Regions from separate parts of the Homo sapiens genome. Here regions 2, 3 and 4 are each linked to region 1. The links are contacts of gene promoters, found by promoter capture Hi-C in blood cells and fetal thymus (Javierre and others, 2016). All regions are on one chromosome and are shown on one strand. The core of a region is centred on a gene start or on the middle of the fragment in contact, and the rest is flanking DNA. Distances in the headings are between cores, read along the strand shown. Region 1 holds the start of FUNDC1 (FUN14 domain containing 1). Region 2 holds the start of DIPK2B (divergent protein kinase domain 2B). Region 3 overlaps DIPK2B (divergent protein kinase domain 2B). Region 4 holds the start of NDP (norrin cystine knot growth factor NDP).

What was found. Contacts are between HindIII fragments. The CHiCAGO score rates a contact against its expected background, and 5 or more counts as called.
Region 2: a contact is called between the fragment with the promoter of DIPK2B here and the fragment with the promoter of FUNDC1 in region 1, in 3 of 17 cell types (neutrophils, endothelial precursors and monocytes). The highest score is 6.0, in neutrophils.
Region 3: a contact is called between a fragment that was not itself captured here and the fragment with the promoter of FUNDC1 in region 1, in 1 of 17 cell types (total B cells). The highest score is 5.1, in total B cells.
Region 4: a contact is called between the fragment with the promoter of NDP here and the fragment with the promoter of FUNDC1 in region 1, in 11 of 17 cell types (total CD4 T cells, non-activated CD4 T cells, naive CD8 T cells and 8 more). The highest score is 12.9, in total CD4 T cells.

What each region holds. Positions count from the first base shown.
Region 1 is chrX:44,541,460-44,544,211 of GRCh38, reverse strand. It overlaps FUNDC1 (FUN14 domain containing 1), which reads left to right and starts at 1,353. Exons shown (of 5, transcript NM_173794.4): 1 at 1,353-1,407; 2 at 2,111-2,267. The coding sequence starts at 1,380. RefSeq lists enhancers at 969-1,028, 1,039-1,088, 1,269-1,658. The HindIII fragment of the contact is 14,705 bases long and covers 1-2,752 here.
Region 2 is chrX:45,199,544-45,202,295 of GRCh38, reverse strand. DIPK2B (divergent protein kinase domain 2B) reads left to right here and starts at 1,420. Exons shown (of 5, transcript NM_176819.4): 1 at 1,420-1,702. The coding sequence starts at 1,470. The HindIII fragment of the contact is 1,085 bases long and covers 848-1,932 here.
Region 3 is chrX:45,183,333-45,186,084 of GRCh38, reverse strand. The region is part of intron 2 of DIPK2B (divergent protein kinase domain 2B); the gene reads left to right. Among named protein-coding and RNA genes, the nearest start is that of DIPK2B, 16 kb to the left of the region's middle. The HindIII fragment of the contact is 1,302 bases long and covers 680-1,981 here.
Region 4 is chrX:43,972,015-43,974,766 of GRCh38, reverse strand. It overlaps NDP (norrin cystine knot growth factor NDP), which reads left to right and starts at 1,377. Exons shown (of 3, transcript NM_000266.4): 1 at 1,377-1,463. The HindIII fragment of the contact is 1,267 bases long and covers 413-1,679 here.

The DNA of each region.
Region 1 (2,752 bases), core at 104-2,603:
AGAGAGCAGGTAAACAGATTCCAACTTCTAGCAGCAGGGCATTAGAAAACTTGTGGTCCCTTTGTGAGCGCTTGCGCCCTTAGAAAAGTATGGCTTGAAACAGGGTTTCTCTTATCTTTTACAAGCCTTTTTCCTCAAGCATTTGAATTCTGGTAATGTTCAAAATACTGTTAAAAAATTATTCTGACAGTATGCAAGTGATGGGCCTGACAAAAAAATTATGGGACACTTCTTAAAATGGTAAGGAAGACTTTGTTCATGACTACTGCAATAGGTATCACAACTATTGCAATACAGCCTGGCATGGTGGCTCACATCTGTAATCCCAGCACTTTGGGAGGCAGAGGCAGGAAGACTGCTTGAGCCCAGAAGTTTAAGAGCAGCCTGGGCAACACAGGGAGACCTACTCTCCACAAAAAATAAAAATAAATTAGCCGGGAGTGGTGATGCACGCCTGGAGTCCTGGGTACTCTGGAGGCTGAGGTGGGCCGATCTCTTGGGCCCAGGAGTTTGAGGCTGCAGTGAGCCATGATAGCGCCACTGCACTCCAGCCTGGTGACAGAGCAATACCTTTTCTCATAAAACAAAGACTATGGCAATAGGGGTGAGTGATGGGTCTCAACTCTGAATACAGCAGGGAATTTATAGTAAATGATCAGAGTGAATGGATCAATGGGTGGAAGATTACCAAGAGTAGACATGAAGGGTAGGGGTATTCTTGCTAAAGCCAATTTAACAGGATTTTTGCTGGTGGCAGAGTGATCAGATATCAAGAGTGGGGTTGAGGAATTCGATCGGATATTGAGGGTGATTCGATATTAAGGGTGGGGGAGTTCTTACTAAACTGACTTAACTGCATTCTTACCACAAATGGACTAGGCAGGTCAAAGACGACCCAAGGAGGAGACCCAGTCAAAAACAGCTCAGAGGAGCCTCCTGACTAAAGTTTGGTCAAGGAGAGAGTCTTTGTCAATACCCAGCTGGTTCTCCCTTTGTACCACCATGTGGCGCCCTTCACCCCATTCCTTCAGCCCTTAAGGCTCTTTTAAAACAAAATAATCAAATTCAAGTTACGGAAATTCTAGGAGGGGCGGTCCCTCCCCCTTCCTAGTTGCGGAAGGCAACGGACTACAAGTCCCCTACGCTCTCGCGGGGCTATGATCCGCCCGGCCCTCCCCACATTCCGGAGTTTCGCGCCTGCGCAGAAGGCAGAAGGTCCTGCGCTGAGAGAAGGGGGCGGAGACAGGACTACGCGCCTGGAGTAGGAGAAGGAGGAAAAAAGAGACCATAGACTTCCATCCTGGCCTAGAGCGGCCCTTAAAGTGCCAGGGAGAGGAGGGCGGGTGGGGACCACTCCAGAATTGGCCGCTGGCGGTATCATGGCGACCCGGAACCCCCCTCCCCAAGGTGAGCGGCCAGGGCCCGAAGTGGTATCTGGGACGCGGCTCACAGCTCTCGACCTTGCTCCTATGGCACCTCTTCCTTCCCCTGCCCTAGGATTCTTCGAGCTCCATTTTTTTTTTAAGGCAGCCCCTTCGAGCACCCCCTCCGAGCTAGACTTTTTCCTCCCCTCTCTGCGGAACTCAAGCGGAGAGCCACCCCCACCCCCAGCACAGCCCTACCTGCCTCCTGCCTTACCTTCACCTCCGGCCCTTCATCTCCCATCTTCAAATGTATTATTTTCTTTTTTTAAACGTCTGGACTCAAGTGATTTCGCTGAGCTCCAGACTAGTTCTCTCAGGAGGACCCCTCCCCACCCCCATTCCTCCCACTGATGAAAATGGACCCTGCTCTGACCTTGACCCTACTAAGGTTTGGAGGTGGGGGTGACCCCTCACTACTGTGTCATTCTGAGTTGGCCCTGGCTTCGTGACCCCAGGCTGGTCCCCGGGCCTTTGGGAAAGCAGATGGGGGTCATTGTTGCAGGGTCCTTTACTCTTGAGGCCCTGGTCTCAAGAATTGAGTTAAATAAAGTCAGTAGTTTCTATGTGGGCATTTTTAGCTGTAGGCCAGAACTAATGAGTTGTAACAGATTTTTAAAAAGATGTATAGAACATTTCTGACTTTTGATTGACTCTACATTTATTTTTTGCATTTTGCTATTTTGAAGACTATGAAAGTGATGACGACTCTTATGAAGTGTTGGATTTAACTGAGTATGCAAGAAGACACCAGTGGTGGAATCGAGTGTTTGGCCACAGTTCGGGACCTATGGTAGAAAAATACTCAGTAGCTACCCAGATTGTAATGGGTGGCGTTACTGGCTGGTGAGAACAACGTCTTTTTCATTAAATTTCATTTGGGGGCCTGACACTGCTGTCCTTTCATACATGGGCAAGAATCACCGTGCACAGGCAGTAGGTCTACACTGTTAATTCCAGAAGAGGCTTTTCTCTGAGTTAAAATTGATGTAATCTACATTCCCAGGCTCCCTGTTGAGTTTTGGCGATCCCCTCCCCCATGCCCACCACTGTTCCTCTTCTCCCTCCTCATCCTTCTTTTGATTCTTTATATAATTTCCCCATTCTCATGTTCAGCAAATGTCGTGGATCTGATTCAGTGATAGTAGATAGGAAGAAATATATGAGTTAATTATATGTAAATTTTTACATTTCATTCAGTGCTAACTGCTGAAAAAACCTAAGAAACTCCCACGGTAGAACTGGCCTCTAGTATTGTCAGCCCTGTACAGAGCAGTGTAAAATGCTCAGTATGAATTATTGGTGATGATACAGATGATTCTGTTTTTTGT
Region 2 (2,752 bases), core at 171-2,670, 660 kb before region 1:
ACTCTTTAAAATTTAAATGTGCTTAAGTTTTTCTTTTATCACACCTGACACCAAAAGCATGATTCAAAAAGAAAAAATTAACAAATTGGACTTCAAAATCAAAACTTTCACTCTGCAGAAGACTCTGTTAAAAGAATAAAAGACAAGTTAGCCCTGGGGAGAAAATATTTGCAAGCCACATATCCAACAGAGGACTCGGATCTAGAATATATAAACAAGCGTCAAAACTCACCAATAAAAAGCAAACATGACCAGACATTTTACTGAGGAAGCTATACAAATGCTAATAAGCACGTGCTTCATCATCAGAAAATTGCCTTTACCTGCTCTTCCCACCAATCTTTAGCAAAACTTGTCAATTGTCCAGAGGCAATCCCCACTCCCTCTTACCTCCCTTTTCCTCACCCCCAGCCCCATCTTCCTATGCACTTTCTCATATTTTCAAACCGTGCCCCGCTCCCCACCTCCACCCTCTCACAGAATGTGAGGCAGCCTGACTTCCCTGATTTGGTTCTCAGAGGTTCTCTCTACTCCCAAATTAGCACTTCCATCTACTCCATGCTGCGGACCTTATCTTGGTATCCTGAGGAAGGCAATCCTGGGGCAGTTAAATCCTACCAAATCCGGCCAAGCCACCCCGAGAAGTGAAGCAAGTTGGTAAAGGAAGAGAAGCTTTCAGGTCTGTGGGAGAGGGATAGACACAGCTGTGTGCTGTCAGAGGGCTCTTTCTGGTGCTCCCCTCATCATGCCACAGAGGCCACCGGGTTCTTTCTGGTCTCTTGTTCTCAGACCAGCAAGAGAAGATGGACTAACCTGAGGTTTTCTCTTCCCTAAGCAGCAAAAAGCTTTCAAATCAGTGCTAAATGTGCCAGTTAATGGCAAGCAAGCTAACCTCTAGTTATTTCACAGGCAAATATGGTAAAAGTGGGGGAAGGAGGGCTGATTAAGGGGCAGGACAAATGACCTAGCACAGAGGGGTCAAAAATTGGGGTGCACGTGTAATCCATAGGGACAGATAAACCTGGAATTAAAACAGTGGAGGGTGGAGGCTTTCAGGATCCTTTGAAACTCCCAGGTGGAACGCAGGTTGGACACACATCCTGCATGGACCTTTCCTGCCCTGCCGGGATATCCTGTGTTTGTCAAAAGGACCACACAGGGAAGCCCTGACAATTGTCCTTCCCGAAATCTGCCAGCGAGCCCCTCCCCAGCCTGAAGCAGCCACCCCCGGCAAAGGAAGAGTAACTCTGGAAACAGCGTTATCAGCATCCTCCACTGACTTCCTCACCTCCTCCCCAGCCTCATTAGCCCCAAGCTCCTCAGCATCCTCAAAGAGAAACCTGGGAGGCTGGGATGGGGTCAGCACCCAGAAGCCAGCCCCCTCTGACAGCTTCCTCTTTGGCCAAGCCCTGCCTCTGTACAGCCTCGAGTGGACAGCCAGAGGCTGCAGCTGGAGCCCAGAGCCCAAGATGGAGCCCCAGCTGGGGCCTGAGGCTGCCGCCCTCCGCCCTGGCTGGCTGGCCCTGCTGCTGTGGGTCTCAGCCCTGAGCTGTTCTTTCTCCTTGCCAGCTTCTTCCCTTTCTTCTCTGGTGCCCCAAGTCAGAACCAGCTACAATTTTGGAAGGACTTTCCTCGGTCTTGATAAATGCAATGCCTGCATCGGGACATCTATTTGCAAGAAGTTCTTTAAAGAAGAAATAAGGTCAGAATATCAATCAAATAACTCTGAATCACAAAATTCTGTTCCCTTCTTGTGAAGATGTCCAGGAATTTGTTGAAAAGGAATCAGGATGTAATATGGGTGGGAGCTGAAACAAATCCATTTAATCAGAGTGGTAATGGTCTGAAGTTGGGGTGGGTAAGAGGGCAAGATGTGAAGCCAAATTCCAGCCCTAAATGCTAAATCCAACATTTCCTTTTGAACTGAAAGCTTGAAGTTTTCTTTCCTATGAATGGAGTAGCCTGGGACTGTTGAGTTTATCAAGTTCATTTCTCACAGTGGGCGGGAAATAAAATTTATAGAAAGCCTACAATGTGACACCTATTTTAAATCATTGTGAGAGTTAATGGTGTTCCCCCATTATTGAGGTGGTAAGCTGAGACATAGCCAGATAAAGTGACTTCAGTGGGGGGAAATGGGTAACTCTGTGAGATGATGGGACCCATTTCACTATATATATGTATCTTACAACATCGTGTTGTATACTTTAAATATACACAATAAAATTTATTTTTTAAAAAAGATTAAGTAACTTGCACAAGGTCACCACCGAATAAGTAGCAGCTGTGGAATTCAAACCAGGACGGTTTGCTCCAAAGTTTCTGAGCCAGCTTTCTGTTGTGAGAGATTGCCTTGATCAGAGGAAAACTGGAGCTTAGTAAATTGCAATGCACATGGCTCTCAGCAAAGAATGGCATCACACTTGGAATTTAAGCCTATCAACACACAGTCCATGAGCCTTTACCACAGCCAAACTCTAGCAGGTACTGGGGTGACAGCAACTATAACTCTGGTCATTGCCTTCCTGGAGGTCAGGACAAGGGGGTCATGTTATAAATAATAATAATAAGGCTTTGTCTGATGCAGGGCAGTGTAAAGGACCTCCAGGAGCTCCATTAATTCCAAATGGGAACTGGGGAAGGGCTTCCCCAGGAGAAGGTATTCTGAGCAAAGCCTTTTAAAGGATGAGCTGAAAAGTAACGGGAAGTGAAGGGCTTAAGGTGGAAGTAACATCTTAAGCAAAGGTGTGGG
Region 3 (2,752 bases), core at 81-2,580, 640 kb before region 1:
GACTAACCTGCTCATTTCCAAATTCCATTGTGTCACAGTCTCATAGAAAAGGGACTAATAATCACCCACTGTGCCCACTCAAATTACCCCTAAATTATTCTTGATGGAGCTCACGAATGAAAATGAGACAGTCGGCCGGGCGCGGTGGCTCACGCCTGTAATCCCAGCACTTTGGGAGGCCGAGGCGGGCGGATCACGAGGTCAGGAGATCGAGACCATCCTGGCTAACATGGTGAAACTCTGTCTCTACTAAAAATACAAAAAATTAGCCAGGCGTGGTGGCAGGCACCTGTAGTCTCAGCTACTCGGGAGGCTGAGGCAGGAGAATGGTGTGAACCCAGGAGGCGGAGGTTGCAGTGAGCCGAGACTGCGCCACTGCACTCCAGCCTGGGCAACAGAGCGAGACTCCATCTCAAAAAAAAAAAAAAAAAGAAAAGAAAAGAAAGAAAATGAGACAGTGAAAGGCTTCCCCAGTCCTGACACAGACAAGTTGAGAAAGAAAAAGGAGGCAAGAGAAGACTAGGGGAAAGATAGACATGAGACAAGTCACCAGTGGCTCCTTCCAGATGATGCTCAAATACAGAATACAGGCCGCCCCCAGCCAAAACGTAACCGAAGCCTGAATAATCATCAGAACAAACAATACAAAGCAAGCTTTGCTTTTACAGGGCTTTAAGCTTTCCCTAAACTTAGATGTTACCAATCAAGCCCCTTTTTTAAAAAATCAAGGCATCCTTTGTTCTATACAATTCTTCCTTTGATATCTCATTACCTCTATCCTGATGTACTCAGAAAAAAATGCTTTTGCCGTTAAGTGTGACTTGGCCCAGAGGCCTCTGGATTGGCTGTCCCTCTATGCATGTCCACATGCTATGAAGGAATCAAAGGTTAAACTATATAATATATAGTATTTATCTATAAAGAAAGTCACTTGGAAGACATCAGTTAATATAGTGATTGTGTTCTAACACAATATTTGTGGCCTAATAAGCAGAACTTAACCACTATATCAATTGATTGTGCTACCGTGATTGTGTTCTGTGTATTAAGCCACAAAACCCCTCAATACATTTTTTAAAGTAGAAATATTAAAGATCATTTTATCTAATCAAAAGAGAATCACATCAGACATTAACTATAATAGGAAAAAAAAATACCAAAGCAGAAATGTAAAAACATTATCTTTTGAGCCACAGAGCAAATAATTGAAATTGTAATAATATCAGGATAATAACAATGATGAAAACTCTATATTTCCCCAAACTATGATTTAGCCTTTGCCAAATCACTGCTCAGAGGAAAATTGAAAATCAATCCAGGGTTCTGTTAGGCTGCTGTTGACACAAGTTCGGTCATTAATGTGGAGAAATAATACAAAAAGATATTAAAAACGCATATTAATTTGTTCCTAACTCAAGGCCACTTATGGCAGTAATAATTTTTACAATTGTGTTAGCGCTTCTCTCTTAGGATTATCAAGAGGTCTGTGGAAGGCATAATTTATAAACCTTTTGTGTGGGTTAAGCAGGGAATAAATATATTTATTCCTGGTTTATATATGAGAGCAAACCACAGAGCAATATATCAATTTGTTAAAGATCAAAATCTATTTCTACTTACTGAATTACACATATGTCATAGATTCTTGGGGTTGAAATAAATTTGAAAGCTCAGCAATTTGAACTCTAACATATTTGCATCCTTTCTGTAAGGCAAAGGGTCATCTACCGTATCATACAGTGACAGGAAACTCACTACCTTCAGCTTATGCCTTCTTTGGACAGAACAGATACTTGGAAAGTTCATCCCAAATCTGTCTTCTTGTAGCTCTCACTTATGTAAAGTATTTCTACGCCCTGGAATCATACAGATTATACATGACATATGCCCTCCCATACACGCAGCTCCTAAATCCTGGCTTCCCCATTGTAAACATCCCCAGTTCTCTTTTTCATCTCGGCATTCCTCTCATATTGAAGCTTCTTAAATGTTATGTCAACTGAAACCCCTTCTGTAGCTAGATTTTAGTTCACAAGGACAGAACCTTTTGTTTATCCTGTTATATATGATCTTCTTATATTAAATCCATTATTCTAGCCTGTCAACTTGTTTCTGATACTTATCATACCCCGTATCACCCCAAGTACATATTATTCTCAGTTTTGATGAACACAATTTTTATCTATGTCTTAGTCCTCTATAAAAATGTTAACCAGAACAGGGCCAAATAAAAAGCTTTCTTTCTCTATAGGGGTTAATCCGTTAGTTGTTAGGTAAACTCAGTTAACCAATTACTAATCATCTTAATTTTTCTATGCAGCCCAAATCTTGTTTCCCCTTTTGTTTTATAGGGGTCTCATGAGAATCACTGTTGAATGCTTCACTAAAGTTCATATATTCTGTCTATTGAATTTCTCTGATTAAAAATCAAACTACCAGGTCAAAGAAAAAAAAGTTGTTAGTCTGGAATGATTTGATTAAAAGAATCCTCAGTGACTCCTTAAGATCATCATTTCCCCATCTGGAGGCTCACAAATTATCCTATGAATAACCTGTTTTAGAATATTTCCTGTGATCCAGGATCAGCCCACTAATCACTAATTTGTGAAATCTACCCTCTTGCTCTTTTTAAATATCAGAAATGGATTTTCATGCCTTTTCTGTTCTCTGCATTCACTGCCCATGGTTCAGCAATATCATTTGCCAGGTCTCTGTGAATCTCTCAGGCTGGGGAACTCACTCAGAACAATGA
Region 4 (2,752 bases), core at 128-2,627, 570 kb after region 1:
GGTATTTTTTTTTCCAAGTGGAGCATAAGAAAAGGGATTTCTGGCAATAAAACTGAAAGTTTTAAGACACCTCTTGCAAATATCAGTGACTGGAGTAAAGGTCCCATGGAAAAGTAATAAGGTGAATGTAAATTTATTAATGAATAACAAATAGTTTGATACAGAGTTGAACAAGACAGTTTCAGCATCAACAATTACATGAAGCTCCCAAGAAAAATTTCTTTTTGAGTTTTATAATGTATTATTTTTTCCACGAAATATATATATTTTAAATTCTCAGTTTAATTCTTCATCAGTAGTATTAATAAAACAAATTATTCTGGGTCTGATTTACCTGACATAAAATAATTATTAAATGTTCTTTGTATTTTCCTCCAAAATCCCTGACGGTTTTCTGTGTTAATTTTAAGCTTTCAAAGGGCAAGAATTATGAAATATTTGCCTTTGTAGTCCCACAGCTCATAACACAGCATGATTCAGCTGCAGGTATTTAACCCACACACATAGTTACCTTTGTCACTTTTCTACTAGTTGTTGTGTAATGGGTTAGCTTTATCTATTAGTTTCTCCTTCATATAGCTCAAGGAGTCAAGGAATACACGTTCTCATTGTTTCTAAATCAGACCTAAAGTTTTATTCTAAATGATGCAGATGAAGGGGCTTATTAAAGTGCCATTGTGAATTTAATCATGTATATGCTGCTAAAAATCATTTAATGGATGAACAACCCGGAAAAAAAGAACTCTCACCACCCACACACATCGTGATAAAATAGGGCAGCGTTTTGCACTTGCTTTAACAGCATCGCCTGAGAAAAAAATTTCTGGTTCCCATCTTTCCCCTCTCTTACTTAAAATTTCAACTTCATCACAGTCAGCTGCCGAATCGTTCAACAGAATGCCACACTGCCTTTGTATTTCCAAAACTATACGTCTCTATTGCGGACGGCACATCTTTATGGCAGCCACATGCTTGAAAAAGAATTAAATTCAGAATATTCATTTGGCCTCTTATTAGTTCCATAATACCATTAAAAAAGAAAGAAAGAAAGAAACTTCCTCGCCCTTGTTCTGCTACGCTGTTCCCATCGTAAGATGCTCCGTGGAAGGGAGCCGAGCGGTGGGCAGAGGCTGAGTCCCCGATAACGAGCGCCTCACATTTCCGTGGCATTCCCATTTGCTAGTGCGCTGCTGCGGCCGCACGCCTGATTGATATATGACTGCAATGGCACTTTTCCATTTGACATTCTCTCTCTCTCTCTCCCTCTCTCTCTCTCCCTCTCTCTCTCCCTCTCTCTCTCTCCCTGTGTCGCTTAAACAACAGTCCTAACTTTTGTGTGTTGCAAATATAAAAGGCAAGCCATGTGACAGAGGGACAGAAGAACAAAAGCATTTGGAAGTAACAGGACCTCTTTCTAGCTCTCAGAAAAGTCTGAGAAGAAAGGAGCCCTGCGTTCCCCTAAGGTAAGCAGGAAAACAAGCGCTGCCGGCTTGCCTAGGAAATCGCTTCTTTCCAAACCGAGCATTTCATCCTCCTCTCAGACAAAGAGACAACCTTTAAATACCACTTAAATTTGCATTACTTTAATTTGCATTAATCTGTAGCATGCTAGCATTGTGTTTCTTAAATGAACGGGTCTTTGAAGTCTGTGACAGAGCAGGGAGCCTCCTAGAAAAGCTTGAAAATATCTTTTGGTTTGACTTAAAGAGATTTTTCTTTTCAAACTCTCTGCGTAGTTAGATGTAACTTTGTGATGGTTCTTATAGTTGACCCCGTGAAAGGGGGCTGCGAAGCAGCAACTTGCCAACATGGATTCATGGAGCCCAGTATCTTCCCCAGCACCCTCATCCCACTTACAATGGGGGCACTATTAACGCAGGCAAGACTGCGAGTTTAAAAGCGCACTGTTTACTTTTATTACTACTTATGTATGCTGCTGATCTCCTGCCAGGGCTCTGCCGGAGTGCTCAGAATGACTTCAAACAATAGGCAACATTTATTTCTAGCTTTCTGTGTCACGCTTTGCAGGAATCCTGCTCCCTTGCACTCTTCTTTCAGCGTGCAGGTCTTCGCTTCCATAGATGCATTGGGGAGCACCGGGAGGAGATGAGGATGGATTTACTGTATGATTTTGATTGGGCAAAAAGTCCGAGGAAATGCATGCTGTTTGCCTTGGACTTATTGCAGGGGGTTATTTTTAGTCATCAGCTCGTCCCTGCAGCATGATGTTCAAGGAGTGACCGGGAAAGGATGCTCCCACCAGCACAGAGACCAGGACCTGTAGGAATGACTCCTACCTGCGGGATATTCCGAGGTTTCTTTCAAACTTTGGAATACAAGTTCTCTCTTTAAATGAACAATTGAGCTGTAGGAGGCCTGGGCATAACTCTTTCTTGGGGGACGGGAAGTTTGATTGTGTACAGAATGTTAATGACTCAGAACGCCCAGTAACTGAGGCTCATTGTAATAGACAAACCCAGATAAGCCTCCATGAGAGGCAGACTCCCATCTTTACTGAGATTCAGGTGCGGGAAAGGAAGCTATTTGGCAAGATGGGAGTCCCTTGTACAGTTCTTTGTAACTCATTAATAACAGATATGGCTGCTGTGAAACATGTCTCTTTTCATTTCTAATATTAGTGTATTTTAATTACAAGGAGCTGGCATTGGCAAATTACCCCAACACATAAGATTAAATACCAGGTGCATTTGAAAACAGAGAGATGACTGAAATGGGGAGTTGCTGTGGGTGT